Linked DNA regions of Homo sapiens: region 1 is linked to region 2. The links are contacts of gene promoters, found by promoter capture Hi-C in blood cells and fetal thymus (Javierre and others, 2016). All regions are on one chromosome and are shown on one strand. Each heading gives the region's core, a stretch centred on a gene start or on the middle of the fragment in contact. The rest is flanking DNA. Distances are from core to core; before and after follow the strand shown.

The links. Contacts are between HindIII fragments. The CHiCAGO score rates a contact against its expected background, and 5 or more counts as called.
Region 1: a contact is called between a fragment that was not itself captured here and the fragment with the promoter of EHBP1-AS1 in region 2, in 1 of 17 cell types (megakaryocytes). The highest score is 6.1, in megakaryocytes.

Annotation. Positions count from the first base shown.
Region 1 is chr2:63,487,349-63,490,128 of GRCh38, reverse strand. It overlaps WDPCP (WD repeat containing planar cell polarity effector), which reads left to right. Exons shown (of 18, transcript NM_015910.7): 3 at 2,635-2,682. Among named protein-coding and RNA genes, the nearest start is that of WDPCP, 100 kb to the left of the region's middle. The HindIII fragment of the contact is 4,613 bases long and covers 1-2,780 here.
Region 2 is chr2:63,046,904-63,049,847 of GRCh38, reverse strand. EHBP1-AS1 (EHBP1 antisense RNA 1) reads left to right here and starts at 1,327. Exons shown (of 4, transcript NR_033389.1): 1 at 1,327-1,459. It also overlaps a transcript of OTX1 not described here. RefSeq lists enhancers at 1-516, 517-1,266, 1-1,288, 1,267-2,015. The HindIII fragment of the contact is 1,878 bases long and covers 910-2,787 here.

The sequences.
Region 1 (2,780 bases), core at 39-2,538, 440 kb before region 2:
TCCTCCGCCTTTTTTTTTTTTTTTACATTTTCATGACCTTAATATTTTTGAAGATATTAGGTGAGTTATTGTGTAGGATGATTGTAAATTTGGTTATATTTGAAATTTCCTCACAATTAGATTCAGGTTATGCATTTCAATGCATCCTATCAGGTGGTGCATAATTTCAATTTGTCCCTTTCCTGATGATATTCATGATTACCTGATAAGATAGTGTCTGCTCGGCTTCTCCACTGCAAAGTTACTTTCTTCTTTGTGATTAGTAAGTATTTCATAGGGAAATACCTTGAAATTATGTAAATATCCTGTTCCTCATGCTTTAAATATATTATTATATATGATCAATTTATTTTATCTCTGTGGACTCAAGTTTTCCACTTTATGGAGTTGTTATAGTCATATCATTATTTTATTTCATTATGTATTTTGATGTTTAAATTGTCCCTGATGTGGCCAGAGGGACCCTCTTCAAGCTGGCTTCTGTGTCTTTTTGACATGTCCCTGTCAAAATCTGAGCACTTTAATTCTTTCTGGTACAACAAATGTTCCAGACTCATGTTGTAATTTCCTTTCCCTAGCCTAGGAATCAGTCACTCTTCTAAGGAGCTTTGTTCCTTTTAGAGGGCAAGGGTTCTAGAAGCCAAGTTCTGCTTTAGGTGCACTCATTATTGGAACATTGCTGCTCCCAGGCCCTCTCAGTGGACAGAGCTTGCAGAATGTATGTATCTATGTATACACACATATTTACATCCATATTTATTTCTGTATCTATCTCTCTATATTGAAACCATGAGTTTACATTGGTACATCTCATTCCTATCTACCACCATAGGGTTCATTCTAATTTTCTCCCTTTCCATATTTGTATTTTTCTTCTCAGACAGTGGGAAACCTGGAGCTCCCCTATTTTTTATTTATTGACTTATCAGTCACCCTGTTTGCAGTCAATCCCCTATCTCTGTGGCTACTCCTTCCCTGTATAGATACCCTTCTCACCCCATGTGGGATTTGATATACCATGTTGGGTTGCCCCCATATGTAAATGTCCTCCTTACCTTGTTTAGCCTCTAATACCCTACACCAGGCTGTTGCTTCATGTGAGTGTTCTTACCCTGCTGGAGTTCTAACACACCATGTCAGGCTGACTCTCTGAATGGACACCTTCCCCATCCAGCTCTGGTACCCACTGTAGGGCAGGTTTTCTTAACTGGATGCTCTCCTTATTCTGCTTGTGTTTTGACAGTTTCCACTCTGGGCCAGATGCAGTAGGTCAGACTTGTGCACATAATTCAGGATTCTTTATGATCTTCATAGTTCTATTCTAGAGTTATGATATATATTTGGATGTATGGAATGATGAGTATAATTATAGGGTGGAATATTTTAATGGAGATATTGTCTGCATATGTAGTGCCTGTGGTTCTTAGATTTTTTAAAAAAGCCTTTTTATTGAAGTATAATATATGTACTGAAAAGTGTAAAGATCATAAGATTATGTTGTGAACCATCAGAATATGAAAACACCCATAAAATCACCATCCAGGACAACAAATAAAATATCAGTATCCAAGAAGTCCTACTCATGATTTTTCGCAATAAATCCTTATTAGATATATTCAGTCTAACCAGTAGACATAAACTGCATTCTTTAAAATTGTATGCCTCTACTAATGGCATGATGAATAAAATAGAGCTTTAACAAGTACACGCAATTGACTATTTTGAAAGACTATATTTGAAAAGTTAATTATAGCAGTAATACTTTTTTTTGAAGTTTTATCATTCAGTTTGAGAAAGTCTGGAGCAGTCAGTCACTAGGGGGCAGCCTGTACTGCTTCCACCTCTTTAGAAACAGTTGTATACTCTTTATCCTTATGTTAGTAACTGAGAATTATTTTGCATTGAAGAAAACAAATGTTCCTTCAATGAAAGAAATATTTTATTATTCATAGATATGAAGAAAATGGACAAAATTATTTTGTTCTCTTATATTTAAACTGGAATAATTCCTTGGTTAAATGAATCTTGACATCTGGGAAGCCCAGCTTTGCTTCTTAGGTAGCCCCAGCAAAGTGTCCGAATTTAGGTTTAGAAGGGGTTTTCCCTGTCTAAACAAGTTTCAGATAATAATGTATCCAAACGTTCCTCTAATCTTCCCTTTCTCGTCTGTGGATTTCTCCCAAATGCCGTAGAATAGGAACTAGACTCTTGAGCTAAATTGGAGAAAAGAAAACCACAGCTCAGAATCCAACAGGGCATTTTCTTCCATCCACTGATTTCATCTGGCATTGCTTAGTGGCAGTTCCTTTTGGTAGAACCCTGTGAAAAATATCAGAGGATGTGTGAAAGAGAAAACTTGGTGTTTCTTGATTTCAGTTCTTTACTAATCTTTTTCTCATGCCATTCTAGTTTTGTGTAAATCTTTTCTCATTAGATTGATAAACTTTCCAGTTTCTGCATATCCCTAGAATAGACGAACTCATCTCCGGATGCTTTTGAGCCATTTTATTTCTAGTAGCATAAGGAGACTGTTTCTGCTTTTCTCCCTATCCTTCCCCTAATATAGTATGGCTTGGCTTCTTATTCTCTGGGACTTTTAAATCATAATTTAATGTTATTTCTTCCTTTCTATAGATAGAGACATTGGGATCTACCAGTATTATGACAAGAAAGATCCACCAGGTAAAGTACCTATTCTGTGCAATTAATTTTTATTAACTAAATATTCTAAACCATGAAATACTGACCATTAAAAGCTCTCTTCTCATGAGCTTTAGATA
Region 2 (2,944 bases), core at 78-2,577:
AGCCCATTTCCCACCCGAAAAAACTTCCCAAACACGTCTACCTGGGTGGACTTTTAAAAGTGCAAAAAAGAGTTTTCGTTCCAACTCTAAGCTAGGCGAATCTTTTAAATGGCACCTCCTCCTGAAAATTAGGCACTTTATTCCCTTTCGAGGAATTTCTACCCCTTGTTTCTAATCTCCCCCACTCCCCCACCCCGACAGGCGGGGTAAAAAGTTTGCACAGGATTAAGTGTGAGGGCAAGTCAAGGAGCCTCCAGGCGCATCGCAGTGGGGAGCACTCGCGCTGCCCGGGCTGCGGGGTCGGGCGCCGAGAGCGGACCGGGCGCTGGGTGAGGAGGAGGAGAACGAAGGGGGAGCCCGCTGAGTGAAAAGGGGCCGCGGCCGCCGCTCATCAAAGTGCTTCCCCCTCCCCCAAGCGACACTTTCCTTTGGAGTCCGAATAAAATACGGTAACAGAATATGATGGAGGGCACACTGTTTCCTTAACTGCTTCTCAAAGGACCCGGGAGATCTTCTTAGGACCTTTAATAAGGCTTTGGTCGGTTCTTTTGTTGATCTCTCAAAATCAACTCCTTCTAATTGAAGTTGGAGCTGAAAGCGAGCTAATGTTCAAAGAAAGTGGCCGCCAGACCAACGAAATTACATTTTTTTTTTGACGATGAGGGAACATCTAATCAAAGAGGCAGGGGAGGAGGGGTGGGAGTGGGGGCGTACGAAGGAGAAAAGGAGGTTTTACAAGATCCTTCTCTGGTTCACAAAAGTCAGCGACACGGGCGCTTCTCTACAGAACAAAGACACCGCGGCCCATTCACAAAAGGGAGAGAAAGAGAGAAAGCTGAATAAAAGAACGAGAGAAATGGGGAAAAAATGAGAGAGAGAAGGAGGGAGAGAGTGAGTGAGAAAGAAGCTTTAAGAGGAAAAGAAACAGTGCAGAGCGCAGCGCTAACCCAGGCGGGGACACACCTTAGGCTCGCGCAGGCCCCTACCAGGAGTAGCCCGCGAGGCCCGCGGTCAGCCGCCCGCGGCTCGGAGCCACTGTGATCGTGCTGAGGTTTAAAGAAAGCAACGAAATATACCCCTTCCTTAGGTTCCGAGGAAAGGCGCCGGCTGGAGCGCACTAGTTTTGGGGGAAAGAATATGCGGACGTCCCGGGGTGCGCTTCGCCGGCGTCCGCGTCCATAGCCCGGCGCTGCCCTAGTCCCGGCCAGTCCGCTGTGTGCCGGGGTTGGCCCTCCAGTGCCGGGGCGCGTGACCTTGCCCCATTCCTCCACCTTAACTCATTCCTCCCTCCACCAGGCCCTGTTTCGCCTGCAGCCTCAGCACCTGACCTGGGTCCGGCGCAGCGAGGTGGGACGGCAGTGCGCTCTGGAATGTGCCAGCGCGGTCCCCGGGGTACGCCTCGCGGGAGGCCGGCGCTCTCGGTTCCAGATGCTGCCACCATTCTCGGGGAAGTTGGGAGGTATCAAGTAGCACGGATTTTTTTTTTCCTAATTAGAGTATTTATCTAATCCCAAATTGCAGGCGAATTTTCTTAACGCTCAGCCCATAAAACCCCAGGATTAAGAAAAGAAAGAGGAGAGGGGGAGAGGGAGGAGAGTGGAGAGGGAGAGAGACTGGGATGAAAGTTTCTTGAAAGCAGCGCAGAGGATTGAGGCGGCCGTCGCTAGGCAAATGTCCAGGTGGGAGATGCTGGGCCAGAAGCCATGACCGTTCCAGCATCGGCCGCGGTGCGGGAAGGGGAAGTGGGGACACCACTGGAGGAGGTGAAGCCGTCCAGCTCAAGGCCCTCGAGCCGGGAAGGGGCGAGGGAGCTGGGTGTGGAGACAAGGATCCAGCATCCAGGTGACCTCCAGGCCCGGCCAGGCTCTGGAGGACACTTGGGACAAGGGGAGGGCTTTGGATCTGAGGCCGAGGGATCTGACCAGGGGCGGAAGTTCTGCTCCGGCCCGCAGACTGTGCCCAAGCAAGCCCGCTGCCAACGCCCCTGCTCCTCTGCGACCCTCGGACCGATAGTCTCTTTTCCCGCAGCGCGGGCTTTCGAGTTCCGGGTCCTCCGGCGTGCTGGGCTCGTGCCCGTTCTCGGGAGCCAGCGTCTGGGCACCACGCAGCGATGTCCGGATGCAGCGCCCTTGCCGCGGGCCTTACCCCGCCAGGCGCCGGAGTCCACGCTCCACCGCCGCTGAGGGGCGTTCGGGCGCCACCGAGCAGCCCAAATTGAAACCCCGAGAGGCTCGGGACTAAAGCTGAAGGGGCAGGTAGAGGGGCCGCCCGGCGGTCCCAGACCATCCTAGCAAATCTGGGGCGAGGGAAGGGTTGTCAGTTGGCCGATTGGGAGCGGCTTCGGGAGCGAAGGAGCTGCTTTTCGGCGAGGCCCCTCGGGAGTGAAGGTTCCTCGAATCAAGCGTAAACTGGGTGGGTGCTGTTGGCCGCCCAGGCCCCAGGCTGCTTGGGGCGGGCGATTTCTGTCTGCTGAGTTTTCCCGGGGTTAGAACGGGATTCTGAGAGCGTTCCCCAGAGAGCAGCAGCTCTCTCTCTGCTCTCGTGCTCGAATAAAGAGGGCAAATACCGACTTCATTTACTTAAAATAACTTTTCAATAACTTAAAAGAAATGCTCATCATGAAGGAATTCTACCGTAGCAAGTTTTTATCATTTTGAAAGACTGGCAACTGGAGGTGGCTGCATACTTGGAACGAAATTTGTTTGTGTGCACATACATACGATCTACGCTGAAGTATAAATGCTAGTGGACTTTTTTCTCTAAGTTTCTGGACTTGTTGAACAAGCTTTCTTTGTTTGGACACCCCTGTGGGGGAATGAAGGAAACTAGCATAGAATCGCTTTTTTTTTTTTTCTGTAGCCTAGAACTTCTTGTTAAAAGTTCTCTTTCCCTCATTTCATACACACATACCTGCATACATTCTCCCCGCCCCCCAACAATAACC